Linked DNA regions of Homo sapiens: region 1 is linked to region 2. Evidence: promoter capture Hi-C in human tissues and cell types (Jung and others, 2019). All regions are on one chromosome and are shown on one strand. The core of a region is centred on a gene start or on the middle of the fragment in contact, and the rest is flanking DNA. Distances in the headings are between cores, read along the strand shown.

Evidence for each region. The method cuts DNA at HindIII sites, captures the fragments that hold promoters and counts their contacts. A contact is called where the count stands out against the background at its distance.
Region 1: a contact is called between a fragment that was not itself captured here and the fragment with the promoter of TUBB6 in region 2, in 2 of the 25 tissues and cell types used here (aorta and bladder).

What each region holds. Positions count from the first base shown.
Region 1 is chr18:12,889,648-12,894,931 of GRCh38, reverse strand. No RefSeq gene overlaps it. Among named protein-coding and RNA genes, the nearest start is that of PTPN2, 8.1 kb to the right of the region's middle. The HindIII fragment of the contact is 5,179 bases long and covers 1-3,880 here.
Region 2 is chr18:12,304,422-12,310,176 of GRCh38, reverse strand. TUBB6 (tubulin beta 6 class V) reads right to left here and starts at 1,936. Exons shown (of 4, transcript NM_032525.3): 1 at 1,828-1,936; 2 at 1,382-1,490. The coding sequence starts at 1,884. RefSeq lists silencers at 1,401-1,750, 1,771-1,870, 1,961-2,450. The HindIII fragment of the contact is 9,027 bases long and covers 1-5,755 here.

The DNA of each region.
Region 1 (5,284 bases), core at 42-2,541, 590 kb before region 2:
CTTCTAGACAAATCCAAATGGAGATAACTAATAAACTTTTGGACCAATAATTACACTTCTGGGTATTTATCCAAAGGAAAAGTCCTTCAAAAGAAGAGAGGTGGGCCGGGCGCGGTGGCTCACGCCTGTAATCCCAGCACTTTCAGAGGATGAGGCGGGCGGATCACCTGAGGTCGGGAGTTCGAGACCAGCCTGACCAACATGGAGAAACCCCGTCTCTACTAAAAATACAAAGTTAGCCGGATGTGGTGGCGCATGCCTGTAACCCCAGCTACTCAGGAGACAGAAGCAGGAGAATCGTTTGAACCTGGGAGACTAGGGTTGTGGTGAGCCGAGATCGCACCATTGCACTCCAGCCTGGGCAACAAGAGCGAAACTCCATCAAAAAAAAAAAAAAAAAAAAGGGACGAGTTATGTCTGAAAAAGATATTACAACATTTTTATGTAATAGGAAATTTGGAAACAATAGAACGTCCAACAAAGATTCACTGTTATTCTTGCAATCACATTGACTTTTCTTTTCTTTTCTTTTTTTTTGAGACGGAGCCTTGCTCTGTCACCCAGGCTGGAGTGCAGTGGCGCGATCTCGGCTCACTGCAAGCTCCGCCTCCTGGGTTCACGCCATTCTCCTGCCTCAGCCTCCCGAGTAGCTGGGAATACAGGTGCCCACCACCACGCCCAGCTAATTTTTTGTATTTTTAGTAGAGGCGGGATTTCACTACGTTAGCCAGGATGGTCTCAATCTCCTGACCTCGGGATCCGCCCACCTCGGCCTCCCAAAGTGCTGGGATTACAGGCGTGAGCCACCGTGCCCGGCCACATTGACTTTTCATCTACTATAATCAGGCACCATACTGGTACCCAATGGTGGTACCCAAGGTCGAGCATCAGGATAGAGCAGGAGACAGGAAGAGGATGAAATCTTTATTAAGGCAGCAGCAGGGGGAGACAGAGAGCAGAGCATTGATTTGAGAGATTTCTTGGGAGGCAAGAAGCAACAGAAACCAGCGACCCATTAGACACAGAAGATAAAGGATAGAGAGATGTTGAAGATGACTTCCAGGTTTGTAGCTTGGTTGAATAAGTGATGCCATTAGCTGTGATAGGGAAAACAGGGAAAGAAGACAGTTTTATAGACAAGGTTTTTTTGTGTTTTTTTTTGAGATGGAGTTTCGCTCTTGTTGCCCAGGCTGAAGTACAGTGGCACAATCTCGGCTCACTGCGACCTCCGCCTCCCAGGTTCAAGCGATTCTCCTGCCTCAACCTCCCGGGTAGCTGGGATTACAGGGGCGTACCACCAAGCCCGGCTAATTTTTGTATTTTTAGTAGGATGGGATTTCATTATGTTAGCCAGGCTGGTCTCGAACTCCTGACCTCAGGTTATCCACTCGCCTCGGCCTCCCAAAGTGCCGGGACTACAGGCGTGAGCCACCACGCCTGGCCTATAGACAAGGTCTTGAATTCAGATGTGATAAGCTGAGCTGGAGAAGCTTTAATTGCTTCAACACTGTTTCACTTCTATGAGCCCTCATACTAGTTGAATATGAGCCAGGGCCCCTGGACTCCTTGGGGTCATTTGTCACAGCAGCAGTAGGAAAGGAATACAGTGTGTGTTCCTGCCAAAGCCATGGGCCTGCTGTGGCTGTGCTCCTTCACAGAAAGCCACATTGCCCATCTGATAGCCCTCTCCTGCCCTCTCTCTGGGTTTTGGTAACTGCTCCTGTCCCCTGCACCTTCAGACCCATGGATTGGTAGAATTTCCACACAGTTGTTAACCCTGAGTGTTTAGCCCTGAGTGTTTAGATTTCTTCTAATCTTGTCCACAACTCTGTAAATCATTCTGTCCTTAAACTCTCTTTAATTACCTTTCTTAGTGTGCCAACGGTTTCACAACTGTACATCCTCTGGGACACTGATGGATGCAGACTCAAAATTATCAAAATAAATAAAAAGCTCTAGATTTCAAGAATTAAGGAGACTTGAGAACCATCTAACACATACAAAGGAATATGGTTCTAACAAAGTACTCAAGAACTAATCATTTTAGGGACTGGCATGGTGGCGCATACCTGTAATCCCAATGCTTTGGGAGGCCAAGGCAGGAGGATCACTTGAAGCCAGGAATTTGAGACTGGCCTGGGCAACATAGTGAGACTCCATCTCTACAAAAGAAATTTAAAAATTAGCCGGGCGTGGTACATGCCTGTAGTCCCAGCTCTGGAGGCTGAGATGGGAGGCTCTCTTGAGCCCAAGAGTTGGAGTCTGCAGTAAGCTATGATCGCACCATTGTACCCCAGCCTGGGAGACAGAATGAGATCCTGTCTCTAAAACAACAACAAAAGACACATGAATCATTTTTAGAATACTGATCAAAGTCACCTAGTTTTCATCTTCCTTTATCCATTATTTATTCTTTCTTCCAAGACTAATCAAGGCAAAATTGTGATATTTATCTTAACAACGTGGTAAAGTATATATCTGTCACTCTCTGGTAACTTCTCTTCCAACAGATTTTTATGCCACCCTTTGTCCTCTGGAATGGTTCAATGCAGCTTGATTTGCTAGGACTGTACTTCTATTGTAGAACCCCAAACTCAGACCTGTGTACCCCATGAGCAGCTGGGGCCAAACACTGAGACACTGGTGCTTGGAGATAGAGAAAGGTTTATTCAATTTGACCAAGGCAAGAGGGCAGGAGGGCAAGATCTCTCAAATCTGTCTTAACAAAAAGGTGAAGCAGGGAGTTTTTGTGCAGCTAGACAAAAGGGAGGGGGAGTTTCAGGGAACCGATGGGAAAGTCTGTGTTTCTTCAGTCTCAGATAGTGCCTTGAACAACCAGACTTCTGGGCATCAACAGCCGGTCATGACATCCTTAACAGCATCCATTCCCTCTGCAAAAATGTTTTGTGACCTTGAAGTTATCTTCTCCTCTTGGTGAAGAAACAGCACATCAGCAGTTTATCATTATATTGAGGGAGCAAGGGATATTGGCAGAAAGCGGGCAGTTAACATGTGCAAGCAGGCAAGGGCCTGATCAGAATGTTCATGGTTTCAGCCACTAAAAATGCGGGGTGCTGAAATCTCAAAGGGCCCGGTTACACTCCTCACTCCCCCAGTCAACATTCATTCACCCCGCAGGTGTAAGACCTATAGCTGCTTCCAGTTCCTGCCACTCTGGTGGGGTGAGGTATTATCTCATTATAGGAGTAACTGGCATTCTCTAGTGACTAATGAGGGTAAGGTTCATATGCTTACTGGCCATTTGGATATCCTCTTCACAAAATGCCTACTCAAAAATCTCTTGCCCGTTTTCCTATTAAGCTATCTTTCTCATACTGACTTGTAGGCGTTCTTTATTTTGGGCCTGAGTCTTTTGGGGAAGTATTCACTGCAAAACGTCTACTCTGCAGTTCACCCTTTTCCTTAATGCTGTCATTTGATGAACAGAAATCCTTAATTTTAAGGTACTTCCATTCAAAAGTTTTTTCATTGAGAAGCTTAAGGATTTTTTTTCATTGAGAAGCTGAGGGATGAAACTCTAAGGAGTCCCAGATCTTCTTAGAGAAGGCGTGCCTCTAGCCCGCTGCATGGAGAGCCCTCCCTGTGGGGGTGCATTTGTGGAACTAGCTGGAAACCTTGTACAGCTGGCTGCCATATCAAATGACCATGGACTTGGTGGCTTAAGACAACACCATTTATCCTCACTTAGTTCTAGAGGCCAGAAGTCCAAAACCAAGGTGTCTGCAGGGCTCTGCTCCCTTGGAAGGGTTCAGGGAGGAGCCTTCATTGCCTCTTCCAGCTTCTGGGTGCTCCAGGTGTTCCCCGTAGCTGAGTGACTAACCTCTGCCTCCATCTTCATATGGCCCTTTCCTGTCTCAAATCTCTCCCTGCCCTTCTCCTAGAAGGACAGTTGTCATTGGATTTAGGGCTCACCCTGATAATCCAAGATGATCTGATCTTAGGATTTGTAGCTCAATCTGCAAATACCCTTTTTTCATAGAAGGTCACATTCACAGGTTCCAGGCAGACACATTTTTGAGAGGCCCCCATTCAATCTACTCTATTGCCCTCTGGGTGTATGGGAAAGTTGCTCACGGGGAGATGTCTCACGGGAGGTACTCTGCTACAGACGCACCCCCAGGAGCAAGGTGCTGGGGGAGGCTGCTGGTCACTGGAGTCAGCCCAGCAAGCACAGTTCCCCTGTGCGGTTCCCAGCAAGCCCTTTCTCCTTAAGTGTCTCTCCACTCCCCCTACTGACAAAGCTTAACACTGTGTCAGCTGGCAAAGGAAAAATATTTAAAGGGCCCAGATCCATTCTCATAGAGAAGGTGAAAAAGGAAGCCTTGAGCTTAATGTCAATAAATTGATAACTGACATATTTAGGGACTATGATAGTTCATTGGAAGGCCTACCACATATTCTGTGTAGTTGGGTTAGGTAGTTATTTTTGGAAGTTTTTTTTTTTTTTGAGACAGAGTCTCACTCTGTCACCCAGGGTGGAGTGCAACAGGCGCCGTCTTGGTTCACTGCAACCTCTGCCTCCCAGGCTCAAGCAATTGTCTTGCCTAGCCTCCTGAGTAGCTGAGATTACAGGCATGTGCCACCACACCCAGCTTTTTTTTTGAGACGGAATCTTACTGTGTTGCCCAGGCTGGAGTGCAGTGGCGCAATCTTGGCTCACGGCAACCTCTGCCTCTCAGGTTTGAGCGATTCTCCTGCCTCAGTCTCCTGAGTCACTGGGATTATAGGCACGCGTGACTACGCCCAGCTTATTTTTATATTTTTAGTAGAGACTAGGTTTCATCATGTCGGCCAGGCTGACTCACTCACCTTGGTCCCACAGAGTGCTGCAATTATAGGTGTGAGCCACCACACAGAGCCTGAAATTTTTTTTTTTTTTTTTTTTTTTGAGACGGAGTCTCGCTCTTTCGCCCAGGCTGGAGTGCAGTGGCGCCATCTCGGCTCACTGCGAGCTCCGCCTCCTGGGTTCACGCCATTCTCCTGCCTCAGCCTCCCCAGTAGCTGGGACTACAGGCGCCCACCACCACGCCCGGCTAATTTTTTGTATTTTTAGTAGAGACGGGGTTTCACCGTGTTAGCCAGGATGGTCTCGATCTCCTGACCTCGTGATCCGCCCGTCTCGGCCTCCCAAAGTGCTGGGATTACAGGCGTGAGCCACCGCGCCCAGCCCCGAAAGTTTTTTTAAAAACCGTAATTTATTTGGTCTTTTACTAAAACCATTTTTGGAGGCTGTGGATGAAGCTGAATAAATATTAGGATTTTT
Region 2 (5,755 bases), core at 687-3,186:
AAAAATCCTAGAACCTTAACACTGGAATGAGGAACGAGTCCAGGCATGACCTGGCAGAGGAGGTTCCAGGAAGAGGCAGGATGAGAAATCAAGTCCCCTGACTTCCTGCCTACTGTATTTTCCAGCTCACCCTGACACCTCTTTCCTGTTAGGAAGTTTTACAACTTTAGCTCCATGGAAATAAACTAGGTATTTACAGCAAATTGCCAGGTTTGGATGAAATTCTCTGCTTTGTGACACCTCCCCCATGCATACACATACATGTGCCCATGTGCAGTCTGAGAACCTTGTTACCCGGAGCACGCCACTGGCTGTTTCCCCAGAGTCACTCTCATTTTGAGTCAGAGTGTTCTTGTGTGGAAATTTCATGCCAATTGGGCTAGAACTTGTTCCCGGTGAGGACACGGTTAATATGATTCCAGATAGGACCTGCTCTTCAACTCCTGTCCTGCAGTGCACTCGCCAAGATCGAAAATGGATGTACCCAAGCTGGGTGAGGGATTAACATGAAGTGCAGTGTATACTGGAACTATCCTTAGTGTCCTCTAGAAATTTCATCTTCCATGCCCTGATGTTCCCAGCCTTTTGTCATTGCTGCGTAAATGAATAAAACTCCACTCGTTGCTGAGAACTGCCTGGAGTTTCAGCTTCCAGGGAGGTTAAAGTCTTTTTAGAGGTCTGCAAGGGACCAGAAAAGTCACTTAAGAGAGCGTTTCTCAAATTTTTAGCCAAGAATCCCCAATAAGAGATACGTTTTAAACTGGGGGGGGGGGGGGGGAAGCTTTGTTTTTCCCAAGGATCCTTGAGAAACGCTCTAATTTATTCTAACAGGGTCTCGCTCTGTCACCCAGGCTGGAGTGCAGTGGCGCGATCACAGCTCACTGCAGCCTCGACCTCCTGAGCTCAAGCCCTCAGTTAACTGGTACTACAGGGGTGGGCCACCAAGCCCGGCTAATTTTAAAATTGTTGTAGAGATCGGGGCGGGAGGGGGGCGGGGGGTGGTCTCCTATGCTGCCCAGGCTGGTCCTGAACTCCTGGCCCCAAATGATCCTCCAGTCTCGGCCTCCCAAAGCGCTGGGATTAGAGGCTTGAGCCACCGCGCCCGGCTAGACAGAGAAGGCTGGGCAGGAACCGCTACGTTGATTTCACAACGCTAACGGGTGGTCCCGTTCAAGCGCTCAGACCCTCAGGATAGGCTGAATCGAGCTGTTTGAATAAACTGACGGCGGATTTCCCGCCCCGGAGGAGCGAAGGGAGTGGCCGGGCATCCTGCTACACCCCGAGAGAACTTTTCCCGAAGCAAACTCGCCGCGCTAAGAGGCGGCGCCGGAGCGTCCACGCGGGTCCCGGCCGGGCAGGGCGCGGCGGCCTTGCTACTCACACGATGACTCATTGTAGTAGACGTTGATTCTCTCCAGCTGCAGCGCCGAGTCTCCCACGTAGCCTCCGGCCGGGTCGATGCCGTGCTCATCGCTGATCACTTCCCAAAACTTGGGCAGGGCAAGGCGGGGGGACAGACGCTCAGAACCCAGAGCCCGGGACGCCGCCACCCGCGCCCACCCCAGGCGCCCCGGCGGCCGAATTCCAGGCGCGCCTGAGCCGCCGGCAGCCGCTCCCAGTTGGGATGGGGGTGGGGAGCGAAGAGTAGAAGGTCCCCGGCCGGCCACGCCCCGGGCGCTCCCTCCCTGCGGCCCTCGCGGGTCCGCACCGGGCTCCGAGGACCCAGGGGCGCACAGCGGGTGCGCGCCCCGGCGGGGGTCGCGCCGGGAGACCCGGGGCCCGCCAGCAGCCGACCCGCGGAGAGGCCCTGCACCGCGCCAGGCCCACCTTGGTGCCGATCTGGTTCCCGCACTGGCCCGCCTGGATGTGCACGATCTCCCTCATGGCGGGCGCGGCTCTGCGCTAGGAACTGGCTCTGCGGACGACAGCGGCAACTGCGGGCCGGCTGCGCGCGTCCCGGGGCCGACCCTCCGCGCCCCCGCCCCCGCCCCGCCGCTCGCCAATGGCTGCGGGCCCCGCCCCGCCGCCCCCGCTCGACGCCGCGGCCCGGCCTGCAGCAGCCGAGGGAGGACGCGCGGGCGCCAGTCGGGGGACCCTTGCCGGGAGCCGGGCGGAAAAGGACGGGCCCGGAGCTGGCGGGGAGGAGACGGGAAGGAGCGCGGCGCCCGCCCCCACCACCGTTTCGCTGCCCCTTGTGGTGCCCCGCCAGAGGGAGACGCGAGTCGGGCCCTGGCGTCGGGGCAGCGGAGCCGACGTGGCCCGCGGGGTCCCAGCGCCGCGCCCGGGAGCATTGCAGCCGCCCGCGCCCAGTCCAGCCAAGCCGGGACACTGCCCTGGGGTTCGGCGGTGGAGCTTTTCAGGGTCTCTGCCCCCTGCCCCCCACCCCCCGGTCGCACCCCGGGCACACGTTCTTAGGGCCTCTTCGTCCTGGTGTTTCCGTCTCCGGAGATACAGAGGCCATTCCTCTCCGACGACTCCCACCCCTTTGGAACCGGGTTTAGCTAAAGTGACTACAGGGCTGGATCCGAAAATGAACACCTCCTGCGCCGGGTCTATGCAGCCTACTCCTCGCGCGTTAGCGAAGAAATGCGCTTCGGCCTGGGAGGGCGCGCCAGAGTCCGTCTTCCTGGCCAGTTTTGTGTGGTGGAAAGGAATGACTGCTGATGCCGGCCGGGTGACTTGGATTTTAATTCTAGCTGTTTTCAGTTAGCTCTGCGCTTCAGCGGACTCCTCTGTTAACGGAAAAGGTTATCCTAGGGGAGCCTTTCAGCCTCCAAAATGCGGGATGCTCTGGCCTCTGCAGTCAGAATGTGCATGCATCAGGGCTTTTGCGGAAGTTTCCTCACGTGAACGCTGCAGGCTGGGACCACCGGGGTAGCCTCTGCGTCCCCTCCCAGGCCCGTAGAAACGCCGCACATGAGGAAGCGACGATGTTCTGTAATTTGCACTGGCACTTTCTTTTTAGACAGATGAAAACTTTGGGAAATTCCTAATTGTGTGTGTGCATGTTTGTACGTTTGGAAGGGAGTGGAGAACTTTTAAAAGTTTTTCTTCTGGAGTTTTGCAAATGTTTCCAAATTGAGGAATTTTTTTTTTTAACCCTTGGGTCCCCGCCTCCCCACTGCTCTCTCCACCCCAGTGCTGCTCCTCGGCCTTCTTGTGGGTCCCCACACCTCTTTACACAGCCACACGCCCAGGGAGCAGATGAGGAGGCCACAGCCCAGCCCCTGCGCTCCCATTTCAAACTATGAGCCTGAGATTAATCAGCCACCTTCTCCTGAGTCCTCAACACCCTTATTTAGGCTGTTTGTTTCCATTGCTTAATTATTGACTCCAACGAGTGCTACCTTAACCCATCCTGCCGGCCCGAAGTCTAGTGTGGGGAGCCCGAGAGCGGAGGGCCTGTGCCATCCCTGGAAGAACCCTTCCTCCAGCTTTAGTCTCTCTCTCTAAGAAATCCAGCCATCAAGTGGTTTAAAAGAAAGTGTCTACTTTAGAAGCTTTGGTCGTTTGCTGAAATAGCCACCCTTTCAGTGCTAGCCCTTGGGCTGGAATTTAAGTCCAGGGGTCTGATCGAGCCAGAAAGTAGGTGTCAGCGTGGCTTCCGGAAGTCCGTTGTCACTTGGATTTGACAAGGGACAAGCCGACCTGCTGGTTTCTGGGCTCCTGCTCGCTGTGCGCTCTGCGCTGTCTGCAGGGATTGGTGCCCGCGGAGTGCGCTTTGTCTGGAGAAACTCAGTGCTCGAAGAGTGAGGAGACCGGGAGGAAACCTTCCCCCTGCAAAGCTTATCTCCCTTCCCTCTCATCAGAGGCGGGGCCCCGCAAGACACAAGGGATTTCCCCGCAGAATGAACCAAGGCCTCCCCAGGACATGGGGACAGTTCTGCTGTGCAAAGCCTGAATTCACGTTTCTTTCCTAAAGTGGCTCCCAGTCTCTCTGCAGCCTTGGCCTCTCTTTGAATCCCAACCCTGACTTCCCTGGTGTCTGTTGGCCACTCCCTTCTGGGAGCCGGCAGGTGAAACCCTGACCTGTGAGCCCGGCCTGGGGCTCTCCAGGCTCTGGGCCCCCTACCCTCCCGATCTGTGGCCCTCACTCCTCCTGGGCGAGGCTGTTTGTGACGCGGTGTGTCCAAATGCACACAAGCCGCAAACCAAACTTAAAAAAGCGTAGAGGACACATTCTCTTCTCCTACCTTAAAAAATACACCATGGTATCTGGAAAGCCAGGTTCCAGTTTAGAATTCTCAGGCTAGGCCGGGCACAGTGGTTCACGCCTGTAATCCCAAAACTTCCAAAGCTGACATGGCAGGATTGCTTGAGCCCAGGACCTCGAGACCAGCCTGGGCATTATAGTGAGACCCTTGTCTCTACAAAAAGTTAAAAAATTAGCCAGGCATGGTGGTACATGCCTGTACCCAGCTACTCCAGAGTCTGAGGTGGGAGGATTGATTGCTTGAACCTGGGAGGTGGAGGTTGCTGTGAGCTGTGATCATGTCACTGCACTCCAGCCAGGGTGACAGAGTGAGACCGCGTCTCAATAAAAATAAAATAAAATAAAATAAAAAAGAAATCGGTAGACTTCTTGGGCTCCTCGTTGATTTGCATCAGGGCGTGGAAGTGCGGGGGCTGGTCTCAGCCTGCAGTCCTCACTTTCAACACCCGCCTTTCTCCCCACCTCCAATTCTGTCCCACGCCGAGATGGGTCTCCAGTACATGCCTGTGGACACTTCAGTCCTCAGCCACTCACAGCCATCCCAGGCCACCCTGCGGGAAGAAGGGGCCCTAGGAGTAGGTTTGGGGAGGTCTGGGCAGGGACTCCTGAGGTCCGGGGGGCTGAGGTGCCATCTAGGAGCTGTGGGCTCATCCCAGTGGCCCTGTAGGGAGGGGGCAGGCAAGGACAAGGCCCCTCACCTGGGTCGAAGGCAGTGATGGCGTTCATGACTTGGTGCTCTGGGCGAGCCACATTACCCGTGCACTCCTGTCTGCTCACTTTCCTCCTCCTCTTGCCCGTCTCTTCTGTGCCTTAGATCACAGTCTTGCTTCTCTGAACGCCTCCTTCTGTTTCATGCATGTGTAGAGAGGATTCCGGGCTCACTGCCCAGATTTGAATGCTGGTGTTTACACACACCTGGACCGTAGGAGATGGCTGATGAGTGTTTCTTCCTCTCTCGCCCTTTTCTGGGCTGCACCAAGGAATAAGACAGGAGGGTCTCGTCCTCCCCAAATGCTGAGAAGTCCCTGGGGAAGGGGACCCGGAGGGGCCAATGGGGCTCTTGAACTAGGCTGGTAATGGCCGTGAGTGGTGTTATTTTCAACTAAACCCCCAAATCTGGAAAAATGAATGACATCAGACCCTGGTGTTTTTATGTGACGTTCCTCTTGGTAGATAAAATATGGAGTTTCTCCAGAAAGAAGTGGATATTTCACCTGCCAACTGTGCAGGGAGAGGCAGAGGCCGGGACAAGAAGTGGAGAGTGGGAGGGTGCCATGGGGAGGCTGGGAAGGCTGGGGTGCCCCAGTGTTGACTCTCTCTAGGCCCTGGGAGTTGCCACGTGGACTTCAAGGACTGGAACACACTTCCTGCTCCCCACTGCCTCGCTGGGGAAGGGAACCTGCGGCTCCCAGCAGCAAGCCAGGCAAGCAGGCATCAGTTCTGAGTTAGGCTGAGAATAAGCTCTCCTGCTATCTGGCGCCTTCAGTGAAGCGTTGTCAGAATTTACTCTCTGCAGGTTCTCCCGGAAAGAGCAGCCATGGT